Regions from separate parts of the Homo sapiens genome. Here regions 2, 3 and 4 are each linked to region 1. The links are contacts of gene promoters, found by promoter capture Hi-C in human tissues and cell types (Jung and others, 2019). All regions are on one chromosome and are shown on one strand. The core of a region is centred on a gene start or on the middle of the fragment in contact, and the rest is flanking DNA. Distances in the headings are between cores, read along the strand shown. Region 1 holds the start of SLC45A4 (solute carrier family 45 member 4). Region 2 overlaps PTK2 (protein tyrosine kinase 2). Region 3 overlaps PTK2 (protein tyrosine kinase 2). Region 4 overlaps PTK2 (protein tyrosine kinase 2).

What was found. Contacts are between HindIII fragments. The study calls those that stand out against the background at their distance.
Region 2: a fragment that was not itself captured here is called in contact with the fragment with the promoter of SLC45A4 in region 1 in 2 of the 25 tissues and cell types used here (dorsolateral prefrontal cortex and lymphoblastoid cells).
Region 3: a fragment that was not itself captured here is called in contact with the fragment with the promoter of SLC45A4 in region 1 in 1 of the 25 tissues and cell types used here (lymphoblastoid cells).
Region 4: a fragment that was not itself captured here is called in contact with the fragment with the promoter of SLC45A4 in region 1 in 1 of the 25 tissues and cell types used here (lymphoblastoid cells).

Annotation. Positions count from the first base shown.
Region 1 is chr8:141,306,546-141,309,819 of GRCh38, reverse strand. SLC45A4 (solute carrier family 45 member 4) reads left to right here and starts at 1,532. Exons shown (of 9, transcript NM_001286646.2): 1 at 1,532-1,724. RefSeq lists silencers at 1,297-1,536, 1,557-1,656. The HindIII fragment of the contact is 10,784 bases long and covers 1-3,274 here.
Region 2 is chr8:140,880,394-140,883,667 of GRCh38, reverse strand. All of the region lies in intron 3 of PTK2 (protein tyrosine kinase 2), which reads left to right. Among named protein-coding and RNA genes, the nearest start is that of PTK2, 120 kb to the left of the region's middle. The HindIII fragment of the contact is 9,970 bases long and covers 1-3,274 here.
Region 3 is chr8:140,898,200-140,901,473 of GRCh38, reverse strand. All of the region lies in intron 2 of PTK2 (protein tyrosine kinase 2), which reads left to right. Among named protein-coding and RNA genes, the nearest start is that of PTK2, 100 kb to the left of the region's middle. The HindIII fragment of the contact is 9,283 bases long and covers 1-3,274 here.
Region 4 is chr8:140,967,557-140,970,830 of GRCh38, reverse strand. All of the region lies in intron 1 of PTK2 (protein tyrosine kinase 2), which reads left to right. Among named protein-coding and RNA genes, the nearest start is that of PTK2, 32 kb to the left of the region's middle. The HindIII fragment of the contact is 4,557 bases long and covers 1-3,274 here.

The DNA of each region.
Region 1 (3,274 bases), core at 283-2,782:
ACCCCCATATACACCTTCTACCACTTTATCCACATGGAAACAAATATGGCTTTTTATCCTCTGGCTTCTTTTCCTCAACATCATTTGTGAGAGTCATCCATGTTGTTGTGTGTAGTTGATTATTCACTGTCATTGCTGTCATTCCACTGTGTGAATATATCACAATTTATGTATCCATTTAACGGCTGATGAGCATTTCAGTAGTTTCCAGTTTGGGGCAATTATAAACACTGCTGCTATCAACAGAAACACAATGTTAGGTGTGTATCTAGGAGCAGAATTGCTGGGTAATCAAGGCCTTTCAAAAAGATTTTGAAAGTTGTACCACTTTGCATGTCCACCAACAGTGTCTGGCAGTTCCAGTTGCTCCATTTCCTTGTCAACACTTGATATGGTCAGATTTTCCCATTTCCGATGCTCTTGGAGGCTCTGCTCTGCACTTCACTTCTAAATTCCTTTAGCAACAGGTGAGATGGATCTTACGATTTCTATTTTACAGATGAGGACGCCAAGGTTCTGAGAAATGAAGTAATTCCTCCAAAGCAACTTAAACCCTGGCAAGGGTGCAGGGCTGCGACGTTAACAGGGTTGGCCTCAGCCCATCACATCTGTCTGTTAAAGCCGCCTCCCCAGACCTTGTCTTGATGGGGTTTCCCAGCAGTCCTGCCCTAGGGATTGTGGCCCTTCTACACGTGGGGAGAGACGGATCAGTGTCCCTGGCCAGGGCCAAGCCTGAGAGGGAGGCCCAGCCTCCAGGAAGCTCCGGGTCGGGTCTTCGTCCTGCCCCGCTCTCCAGGTTGGAGAGGGGACCCGCAGAGCGCGGGGCGTTGGGGGAGTTGGGGACGGGGGCGTGGTCCGGGACCAGGTAGGAGGTCTTCGGAGGGTGGCAGGGAGGGGAAAACAGGAGAGTTTTCTCCTGCAGCGGAGGAGGGGCTGCAGCACCTGGATGGGGCCCATGTCGCCGCGCCACGGGCAGGGGCGGAGGGGGCGGGAGGGTGCTTGCCAAGGGGCTGGGCTGCCGGGGGCCGGGGCCTCGTGGCTAGCCGGACCCCTCTGCGACAGAGTGGCGAGAGGAGCGGGGAGAGAAGGTGGGGACAGGCGGGGGCCACCTCCTGCGGCTGCAGAGAGGGATGGGGTGGATTGCGGGCCAGCGCTTTAGGGGAGAGAGGGCGGACGCTCGGTGCGGAGGGGCCGGGGCCGGGGCCGGGGCCGGGGGCGTAGCGGGAGGAGGGCGGGGGCGGGGCTGGATTATGGCTGGGGGCGGGGCCATGGCGAGACGGGGGCGGGAGCCACGGTGCGCGCGGGGGCGGGGCAGGGGCGCGGCGGGGGCGGGGCGGCCGTTCGGGGGCGGGGTGGGCGGCAGCGGAGGCCAATGAGCGCGCGCGGCGCAGACCCCGCCCCCCGAATCCCCGTCCCGCGGCGGCGGGTGCTGCATAGTCATGAGGCGCAGGGGCCGGCGCTGCGTCAGCGGAAGCGGCGCGGAGCGGCTGTTTCCGACCCGATAAAGCGGCGTTGTCTCCGCGCGCCGGCCGCAGCCTCGCAGCGCTCTCTCCGCGCCCGCGTCGCTGACTGACCGCCCGGCCGGCCGGCCGAGGGAGCAGCCCCCGCCCGGACCCGCAGCCGCCTCCCGACCCCGGTGCGCCCGGGGCTCCGCGCCCCCGTAGCCCCTGCCCGGCCCGGCCCGGCCGCCCCGCCGCCCCCGCGGCCCCGGCCGGAGGAGACAGGTGAGTGGCCTGCCGCCCGCAGCCGCCTGCCCCGCCGCCCCCTGCACCTCGCACCTGGGCGCCGGGCACCTGCAGCCTCCCCACCCCCACCTCCCGCACAGCCTCGGCCTCCAGGTCGGGTCCGCGCCGCAGCCCCAGCCCCGCACCTTCTCCGGGGGAGGGGACGTGCCCCCACCCGGCTTGCGCTGGCTCCTCAGGGCCCCCCAATTCCTTCCCGCCTCCTCTTTCCGGATTGCACCTGCCCTGGTCCCCAGCCCTGCAGCCTCCCTCATTCCCCCCACCCCGGCCCCCACCCCGGGGCGCGCGCCTTCATTTGGACCCGGCCCGCTTTCGCACCCATCAGTCCTCCCCGCCCCCAGTTCCTCGGTTTCTCTACCCAGAGAGGAGCCTGGCGCCTCTAACTCCTGGTCCTGACCCTGTCTTGTCCTTCTAACCCCTGCCTGCTATCTCTAACTTATGAGAATTCAACCAGCGATACACCACTCGCGAAGTGGCCCCCTCTCCCCTCTGTCTGGACCGGTCCTCCCAACCGAACACACTCCCTTCTTCCCCTTCTTCCCCTTCCCTTCTTCCCCTCCTTTCCCTCTGCCCAGTGCACACACGACCCTGGCAGCACTGCTAGCCAGTGTCCCCCGCCTCGGACCCCCAGCCTGCACCGCCAGACTGTGGCTCTGCCCCGGTCTCATCGGCACTGCGCTCCCTTGTGTCCCTTTGAAGATACCTTGATTTCCTGAGACCGACCTTGTCCCTGGAGGAAAGAGGCCAGGGCATCAGTTCATCCGGGCCCAGATTCCCTGCTCTGTAGAAGTCCCCGCACCTTCTGCGTCTCAGCACCCGCTGCCCCTTTCCCCTTTGCGCTTAACCCGTTCCTCCCCCAGGTATCCTGCTCTGGATTGGAGCACTTCCAGCAGCGGCTTTTCCAGCGGAGGCGGATCCACACGGGGCCCAGCCTCCTGGTTAGCTATTCAGAATGATTCTAGAAGGCGGGGGCTAGGGAGGGCTGGGAAGGGCCGCTTGACCTCCTAAGGAGCCTGAGGTGTTTGTGTCTCTCCAGTGCGGGTCACTGATGGAGTGTGGCTTCAGGTTCACAGACCTAGCCACTGACCCCCATCTGATACCTCAGCTGACTCCAGCAAAACAGGGCTTGTCGTTTTTATTACTGTTTTGGGGGCTGTCTTTTCCAGTCTATGACCCGGAGCGAGGAGGGTTTACCAGATGAGTGATTGAACTAATTGTTGTGGGGTCAGATGATTCTTGTGGGCTGGTAGATTCTGAATCGAAGCCCATTTCTGCTGGGGAAAAGCCACTGCATCTGCCCAGCATTACTGAGAGCGCCCTGCGCTTCCATTCCCCAGACGGTCTCATCCTTCCTGTGTCATTGGCAGACAGGTAGAATGTGGTAGGAATCTTATCCTTCTGTTATTTTGTGCTGGCTTTAGGAAAAAATAAGAAAACAAAAAGCTGGAGTATTGGTGTACAGGTTAGGGAGTGTAACACATGGGGATCAGAGCAGGTAACACACACTGTCCTTAAAAGAAATGTATAGTGTC
Region 2 (3,274 bases), core at 251-2,750, 430 kb after region 1:
ACAGGATTTGAATTTCTGGATCTTTCTTTTTGATAACCCAATGATGAAAGCCTCCAAGAAGAATGGTAGGAATCCCTTGGTTTTCTAAAGCTGAAGAGTATCTGAAAGAGAAACACAATGAGAAAAAGAAACACTATACTATAGAAGAATCAGTAATGATGATTATATTTGGTAATTCTTAGGAAGCAGTAAGGAGATAAACAGTGTCAACAATGTGTGTTGCTTCAGATATCTCTTCTAGTAATAAATCTGAAAATTAAGTGTGAGACTATAGCTAAAAATATAAAATATCCCTTTTTGTCCCCTCCTCCCCACAAACCACTTAATACTCATTTGCACATGTTCATTGTCATGTCTTTCTCCTGTGAGACTCTTTAAGACTTCTGAGGGTCAGAATTGCATCTTAACCGTTATTGTGTCACTAGCATCATGCATGTAGTAGGCACTTCAGATGTTCATGAATAAATGAATGAACAGTTTATGAAAGAATGAACATGGAGGAAAGAGTCACATGACCTATTTCGAACAGTGGTGAAGGTCATTTGTTTGAAAGTACTGTCTAAAAGGTAAGTGGCTAAATGGAACCAAGCAAAATAATAAAAACTTTCAGAAATGAACAAAAGTATAGCCTCATCTCACTAGTGAGTAATCAGGGAAATTAAACCATCATAACAACAGTAAAATACCTGTGGAAGTTTTTTTGGTCATTAAATTGATCATCATAAGATTAATTTTATTCATTAATGTGAGATAAATGATACTCTGTAACATTATGCATCAAGTATAATTGGTATAGTTTTGTTGATGGCCAGGAAGTTTGGTTGTGCTTATCAAAATGTTTCAGTTAAAGGAAATTTTGTCTGTTTCTATGCAGTGGTCATAAATACCTTTGATGACAGCTAGAAGGATGTTCATAGCAGTATTTTTATTTACACCTTCCTTTCTCCCTCAGAACAAGGAAATCTTTATTCATCAGTAGTAAAATGACCTTGCACATTTAATGTTATGTTCCTGATAAGATACAGGCATGATGTGAACACTGGCTTTTATTTTAACCTTGAAAAGAATTCTTTTACCATGAATGTCTACTATGAGAATTTAATCAGAAAAGTTGTGTATTTCTGACACTTGGGTTATGAGAGACAGGTTTCAGAGTAGCCAATTATTGTTTTGTATTTCATAGGACCAGATAGATGTGTCTTCAAAGTCACGATGAGAAATTTAAATTTAATTCTGGTACCTTTAGTGGCATATTAAAAACCCATGTCCTATTATCCTTTTAGAGACAGTCATTTTTATTCTAAATGTACGTGTGTGTGATATGAAAATGGGGCACTTCCATATGGCAGCACTGTAGGGTTGGTTGAGTTTACATTCCTCACTAAATACGTAGTTCTCAGAATTATTTGTTGAGTTATCCAGACCAGATATTTAGTTCTCAAAATTACTTAAGTTACTGAGTATATGCATTTAGCACCACATATTTAAGCACTTTGTATATTTATAATGTTTGCCACTATCCAGAGAAATTTATAAGGGTGCTAGAGAATGAGCAGTAGGACAGAGTACGATATGGATGCGTAATGAGAAAGCAAAAAATGAAACAGAAGGTAATATCTGTGTGTTTATTGCTTTTCACTGTTTCATGGAGAGTGAAAGTTGAAAGCTGGTTTGCTCATGAGGTACTACTGTATGCAAAGGCTGTGTCACTCAGATCCACACTTTGAAGTCACTCTGAGTCTCTTCAGGCAGCATGATCAAGTGAATGGAATAAGATTCTCTCTCTTACGTGAAACTCCAAGACAGAAACCTGCCTTTCCCTAACAGATACCACAGTTCTGGGCTAAGCCTCTTTGAGACTGGTTTGCTGCAGGTCTCCTATATGTGTGCTGTGAGTTCAGCAGAGATGAAGTGACTTTTTCATGGGGTCACTACAGAAGGCAACTGGAGAAGCTGGGCTTTTTCTTAGGATGTGAATGGTGACAATTATGAGAAATGATTTGTGTTCCTTACTGCCTTATATTCAACATCAGGTTATGGAAGGTTAGTAGACCAAGTGACCTGAGGCAGATGGCTAGAGACCACTGTAGACACTGATCGCAGCTCTAACAAGAGAGAGCCGCCTCTTGAATTGGTAGTAGCAGTGAGCTGTGGAGCAAGGAGACTTACTGACCTGTGGTTTACCAAGGATAACTGGTGTTGGTGCGTACTGGGTGTTGATCTGGCAGAGCTGGACAGGGAACCAGGAGCTTTTGTGGGAATTTCACAGAGGTGCTAGCTTCCATCCTTTATAGTTCATGGATTTGTGTGTTGGCAAGAAGCTGCAGAAGTCACTTCTGAGAGAATTGTTAAAAGGTGCTCCTTCCTTTAGGCAAGTTCCCCACCCCAGAGCACAAGGTTTAAAGACTAGAACGTGGACTCTTTTCACCCTCAGCTGGATATCCTTGTGTAGGTAGGGTACTGTCATTTACAGTGGCCCTGTCAGGAATTCTGGGCTTGGATCAAAAAGCCAGGAAGGACATTTTATGCCTCTGTCAGTTCCACATAGGAGTCTGTAGGCTGCAAACATCCTTCCTGTCCTGATGAGAATTCATCATCTTTATGAACCTGTCTTTGACTCTTCCAGCCTGGTCCTCTGTTGATGCTTTCTCTCTTGATACCATGTTTACTCCTTTCCTTTGTCCCTCTCTCTGCCACTTCCTGTGCTTGGTAAACAACTTTGTACCTGGGATTGAGTTGTCTGAAAGAGAGATTGACTCTACCACTTCATTCACTCAGTGCCCTGGGAGGTCTGCCACATGCCAGGTACCAGTATGGGGAGCACAGCACAGCAGCACACATCCTCAGTGTGCATATACTGGGTTTTGGACAGTTTTTGTATATGGTACATGTTACGATTTATCTTTGCTTATGGAGAAGGCTGGGGATAATATCCTTTATCATGATCAGCAGCATTGTGCTGTAATAAAGCAATACTTGATGAGTGCAGGAACTTTTTTGTATGTCTTAACAAGTTGTATTATAGCTTCAATTAATTGCTAATTTTAAAAAGCAGTGATTATTTTCTTTCATAGACATTTTTCATTTTAATATCAGCATCATTTAAAAAAAAACTTGTCTTATCACCTAAAAGATTGAGAAGGTCACAGTTGGTTGTAATTTGCATACCCTCGTGTAAAGGACAGCAAATGGTTCTGTCATGTTCCCAAATGAGTCTTCCATACATGCTGCCCACTTAACAACATATTCTCTCATGGCCCTCATACCTAGGTAG
Region 3 (3,274 bases), core at 492-2,991, 410 kb after region 1:
TGTTAATTGTGTCTTTTGCTCTGCAGAGGCTTTTTATCTTGATGTAATCCCATTTGTCTTATTTTTGCTTTAGTTGCCTGTATTTTTGAGGTCTTAAGTTGAAAAATCCTTGTCGAGATCAGTGTCCAGAAGTGTTTCCCCAGTATTTTCTTACAGTAATTCCATAGTTTCAGGTCTTAGAGTTGAGTCTTTAATTCCATGTGGATTTGCTATTTTGTGTATGGTGAGAGAGAGAGAGAGAGAGATGTAATTTCATTCTCCTGCATACAGTTATCCAGTTTTCTCGGCACCAGGTATTAAAGGAACTATCATTTCCCCACTGCATGATCTTGGAGGTTGGAGGCTTTGTCAAAAATGAATTGGTTGTAAATGTATGGATTTATATTTGAGATCTCCATTCTGTTTCATTGCCCTGTGTGTTTTTATGCCTGTACCATGCTGATTTGGTTACTATAGCTTATTGTAATTTTTGAAGTCAGGTAGTGTAATGTCTCCAGCTTTGTTCTTTTTGCTCAGGATTGCTTTGGCTATTCAGGGTCTTTTGTGGTTCCATATAAATTTTAGGATTTTTTTTTTCCTATTTCTGCGAAGAATGTCATTGGTATTTTGATAGGGATTCCATTGAATCTGTAAATTGCTTTGGGTATTGTTGTCATTTTAACAATATTAATTTTTCCAATCCTTTAACATGAAATATTTTTCAACTTGTGTATGTGTGTCCTCTTCAATTTCTTCCTTTTTTTTCTCTCTTTTTGAGACAGTCTCACTTTGTCACCCAGGCTGGAATGCAGTGGCACGATCTCGGCTCACTGCATCCCCCACCTCCCGGGTTCAAGCTGTTCTGATGGCTCAGCTTCTCGAGTAGCTGGGATTACAGGCATGTGATACCATGCCTGGCAAATTTTTGTAATTTTAGTAGAGATGGGGTTTCGCCATGTTGGTGAGGCTGGTCATGAACTCCTGGCCTCTAGTGATACGCCTGCCTTGACCTCCCAAAGTGCTGGGATTACAGGCATGAGCCACCACACCCAGCCCCTCTTCAATTTCTTTCACCAATGTTTTATAGTTTTCCTTATGTTGATCATTTACTTCTTTGGTTAAATTGACTCCTAGGTATTTGATATTTTTTGTAGCTGTTGTAAATGTGATTGCTTTCTTGATTTATTTTATACATTGTTCGTTGTTGGTGTATATAAATGCTACTTCTTTTCATATGTTGGTTTTTGCATCCTGCTACTTTACTGAATTTATCAGTTCTTAAAGCTTTTTGGTGAAGTCTTTGGGTTATAAGATCATGTCATCTGTCAACGAAACTAATTTGACATCTTCCTTGTCGATTCGGGTGCCTTTTATTTCTCTTGTCTAATTGCTCTGGCCAGGACTTTCAGTACTATGTTGAATAAAAGTGGTGAGAGTGGGCATCCTTGTATTGTTTCAGATCGCAGAGGAAAGGCCTTCACATTTTCCCTCAGCTCGATGTTAGTTTGTGGATTTGTCATATATGGCCTTTTATTATTTTGAGATATATTCCTTCTGTACCCTATTTTTTGGGAATTTTTATCATGAAGAGATGTTGAATTTTATCAAATGCTTTTTCTTCATCTATTGAGATGAGACCATATGGTTTTTTCTTCTTTGTTCTGTTAATGTGATATATCACATTTATTGATTTGCATATGTTGAACTCTCCTTGCATCTCTGGGATGAATCCTACTTAATCATGGTAATTGATCTTTTGAATGTGTTGTTTAATTCAGTTTGCTAGTATTTTGTTGAGGATATTTGTGTTTACGTTCCTCAGTGATATTGGCCTGTAGTTTTCTTTTTTTGTTGCATTGTTGTCTGGTTTTGTTGTAAAGGTAATACTGCCCTTGTAAAATGATTTTGGAAATATTCTCCCCTCTTCAATATTTTTGAGTAGAAGAGTTTGCAGTAGAATTGGTATTACTTCTTAAAATGTTTTTTGTAAAATTCATCAATTGGCTTATTGAGGTTTTCTTGTTTCTTCATGATTCAATCTTGATAGGTTGTATGTGTCCAAGAATTTATCAATTTATTCCAGCTTTTCAAATTTGTTAGCAAATGTTGTTCACAATAGTCTCTGTAAGAGTCTTTGTATTTCTGTAGTAATCAGTATAGTGGCTGAGTTCCAAGAAAACCGAGGGAATCTTGGTCAACTCTTTTTGGTTTATTTTTCTTTTGGTAATTGCCTTTTATTTCCTAGCCTAGAAAGTCCCTTAGCCAGAGTCAGAAGCCCACCCAGATTCAAGGAGAGGGAATACAGATTCCACTTATTAACAGAAAGTGTATCAAAGTTACATTGGAAAAAGGGCATATTAAACATTAAGTAATTTCATGTTAGCTGCTTTGTCTAGTAAAATCAGGAAATTTAGGTTAGACTTTTTATGGGAAAATAAACTCAAGCGTTATAGAAAATACCAAAATGATGGAGAAGATAACTTTTATACCAGTTTAGTTTAAGGAGTCACTTTAACTAGAAATATTACCCAGATTCTTAAAGCTCTTCAAGTTAGGTCATAATTTCTTTTGATTTAGCTGTCTCAATTTGCATTCCTTTGCTTATTCTCTCATGTTCTAACAGTGAGCTACTCTTCTTTCAACACCCTCCCTCACCACTCTCCCTCCCCTTTACAGCTTCAGCAAATGTCTCAAGTTTTATTAAAGGGTCAGTGTACTTTAAGCATAATGAGGTAGTTATCTTGGTGGGATCTTAACATGTACAGTAATTATAAATGAGGGAATTCTGGAGTAAAGAGTAGGGTGTTTATTATGTTCGTTGCATTTTTTTCCCTTTTTTGTATGTGCTGCATTATGTAGCATTTACATCAGGTTGTGGGTTGAACCTTGGAGCTTAACTCCAGAGGTTAGTAACACTTTTTTCTTCACATCTGGACTTGGAACTGCCCTATTTCTTCAAGAGGAGAAGAAACAGTTAGGCACTGAGAACCCTTGATATGTTTCCTATGTTAATTAAAGGGAGACCTAAAGTTGTAGACAGCTGAGCAGCAATTATTGACATTCCATCTTCTCTCCCATTCCAGTCCACATTTGCTCTCTTGCCTACAGTGATTTAAACTGGGCAGCCTGGCTGAGCCAGGACTCAGTAAAGTGTAGTCAGCAGACTAATGTTGGTGCAGATGAATGTTGGTGCTGGAACTGTTTAACAGCCTAGGACAAGATAAGGAAATTTGGTGTAAGCATCTAGACACCTTACAGCAATTTGATAGTAATTTTATGTCGATTGATTCTAATG
Region 4 (3,274 bases), core at 541-3,040, 340 kb after region 1:
AAGTTATCCACATAAGATGGAGAGCCATTTAGGGTTTTGAGCAGAGAAGTGATGACATCTGATTGAGATTTGACTTCATCTGCAATCAGATTGAGATTTGACTTCATCTGCAATGTTGAGGATAGGCACCAGAGCAGCAAGGTTAGAAGCAGGGGACCTGTCAGGTGGCTGTTGAGTTCATTTGAGTGAATGGTGATGATGGCACAAGTCGTGGTGATGGTGGAGGATGTGGAGCAAAGTGGACAGTTTCTTGGCAGATTTGCCAGGAAGAGCTGACATTATTTGCTGACAAGGTTGAACATGGAGTGTGAGGAATAAAAGAGACAAGGATGACATCCATTGTTTTTTGGCCTGGACAACTGGAAGGAGAGAGTTGCCAAGAACTGACATAGAGAAGAGTGTGTAAAGAAGGTTTGGAGGAGAAAGATCAATATCTGAGCTTTGAAATGTCTCTTGGACATTTTTATTCGCTTAACTGATGTTTCACTTCTCTGAGGATCTAGAAGCTGGTCCCCAGCATAGTGTATCCATGAGGAATTGTTCAGGAAAAGAGAAGCTGCTCTAGACACTTTTTTAAATACACAGGATTATAGTCCTTCACTACTGTTGGAAGGGTTGGAGAATTGAAGGTCCAGGAAGCAGCTGTTCACAGTGTGTACTTCCCAGGAGCTCATCTGAGATGGGCAGAGGTCTCAGAATTGAAGCCTCTGCTGCTGTGGTTGAAGTGGATGGTTCTTGGAGTTTCTCCGAAGCTGCTGGGAATTCCTAGTAGGAGCTGCTCTATCTAGGTCTTAGTTTCAGAAGTAGGTCAGTTATTTTTTTCTCCCAGCACATCAGCCTACAGCTGCCTCCAGAGGGTAGTGTGCTCTTTTATCTTACCAGTCTTGCACGAGTTGCCCTTATTAGTTGACTCTAACCCTGAGTTGTAGCAGGAAGGGGTTTGTAGGAAATGTAGTTCTGGCTTCCCTATGTCACACAGGTGAATATAGAAGGTGGTAATGATGCAGAATTGACAACAGTCTAGCACAACAACCAGGCAACTGGATTTTCAAGTTGGGATTTTGGAAGAAATCTGAGCTACAGTTAGCATAAAGGTAGCTTTTAAAGTGAGCTTGCCTAGGAGGTGAGCATAAATAAGAGAAAGGACAGAGTCTTGGGGAACTCTAGAATTGACAAGTTTGCAAGAAGAGGAAGAACAGCTGTAGAGACTGGAAAGAAACCACCTGTGAGGTAAGAAGAAAACCAGGAGAAGATGGTGTCCTGGAAAGCAAGAGAAGGGAAGCAGGAATAATTACCTGTCAGTTGCAGCTGACAGAGGAAGTAATATCTAAGTATTGACCATTGGATTTAGCAGTATTGAGGTCATTGGTAATCTTGGATAGAGAAGTTCTGGTGGAGAGGTGAGATAAAGGGAAGATAATTAGTGATAGCAAGTATATTGTGTGTGTGCTTGTTTATAGGATTATTTGTATAATAGCTGTTTTAAAGTCTTTGTGAGATAATTCTGACCTTTGTGTCATCTCAGTATTGGCTTGTCTTGATTTTCTTTTTCTATGGGAATTGAGGTTTTCCTGGTTCCTCCTGTGCAGAGTAAGTTTGGATTGTATCCCCGACTTTTTGGATGTTATGTTAGGAGGAGACTCTGGGTCTTGTTTAAATATGCTGATGTGGTGGTGGTTTGAATTCTATTCCTCCCTCATCCACCTGCTACTGTTTACTTTTCAGAGTCCTCAAATAGCTTCTGCAGTTACTCTGTTCAGGCTTTCTAGTTGCTTTCAAGAGGAGTGACAGGGTGCAATGTGCTTATTTTTCCTTATCTAAACCTGAAGCTGTTCACTTCGCAAACTGCTTCTGTTACTCAGGTAATGGTCACCAGTTTCAGCTGGGCCATGATGCTCAAATGATTTTGCGTCCCTGATCAGTTACCTCTTCCAGCCCCCATAGGAGTTGCTGCTCGAATTATTTCTTGAATTTGGCTTATAGATAGATCCTTTTTTTGGTGTCTGTTCCCATAGTTTCTTTTGGTGTTTTTCTCAGGTAGACAACATGGCCCTTACCATATATCATGATAGCCATTAGTTTTCTCAAGTATGATAGAAGAGTTGTCTTGTGTTGAATGTATTGACTATGCCTATTGATTAGTTTAAGTAGAATAATGTCTCTTTGACATTTTAAGCCTTTCACACAATATAATTTTGTGGGGATATTTTTTACAATGCAGAATAGAACAGCGGTGAAGAGCACAAGCTGTAGACAGATTTTTGCTTTGCATTCATATCTGATCCTTGCTCCCTGTATGATGTTGACCAAGCTCCTTAAACTCTCTAATCTGTTTTTTCTCTTCTGTTTAGTAGAGATTATTGTGAATTGTAACTCTTTTGTAAATGTGATATATAGTTCTTAGTGCTTGGCTAGTCATATAAATAATTAAAAACGATTTTTTTTTTGGGCAGGATCAACTCGATGTTCATAAGTACAGTTCCTAACAGTGTAGTTATTTCTACTGTGGGAATTTAAGGGCTAATCTTCATCATTCCCTGATTTATATTGATCTAAAAACTGGAAAACAGTTTATATTCGTCATTTGCTATGCATACAAAATGGGCAAGTTATTACTGTTAATATTGGTTTTTAAAATTCAATAATTTTACAGCCTCTTTTAGGGTATTGGTTTAGTCAGTAGCTTAGTACCAGTTAGATGGCAAACCGTGTACTAAGCATCAGTGCAGAGATAGTGAATGAGACACAGTATTCCCACCTTTGAGCAGTGCCAGTCTAGTATTAGAATATTTTTGGCTAAAAAATTATTTTGAAGCATAAAGAAGCTTTTGTTTGCTCTGGTGATTTTCATAACATATTCACATTCTTAATGTATTTTTGGTTTTTCAGAAAGTTACTTCTGGCCTGTGTTCTTTCAGAATATAGGTTGCAGCTTGTGTTAAGTGCAGGAACTATTGATAGACTGAGTTTAGAAGAAGGGAAAATTGGTATAAAGTGGTTGTGTATTTTGAACATTGGGGAGCTTCATAGATGAGTTAAATTGTTAGGATATGGATTAAGAAATGTTGGGTTAGGCCAGGCGCGGTGGCTCACGTCTGTAATCCCAGCACTTTGGGAGGCCGAGGCGGGCAGATCACGAGGTCAGGAGTTGGAGACCAGCCTGGCCAACATGGTGAAACCCTGTCTCTACTAAAAATACAAAATTAGCTGGGCGTGGTGGCAGGCCTCTGTAATCCTAGCCACTCGGGAGGCTGAGGCAGGAGAATTGCTTGAA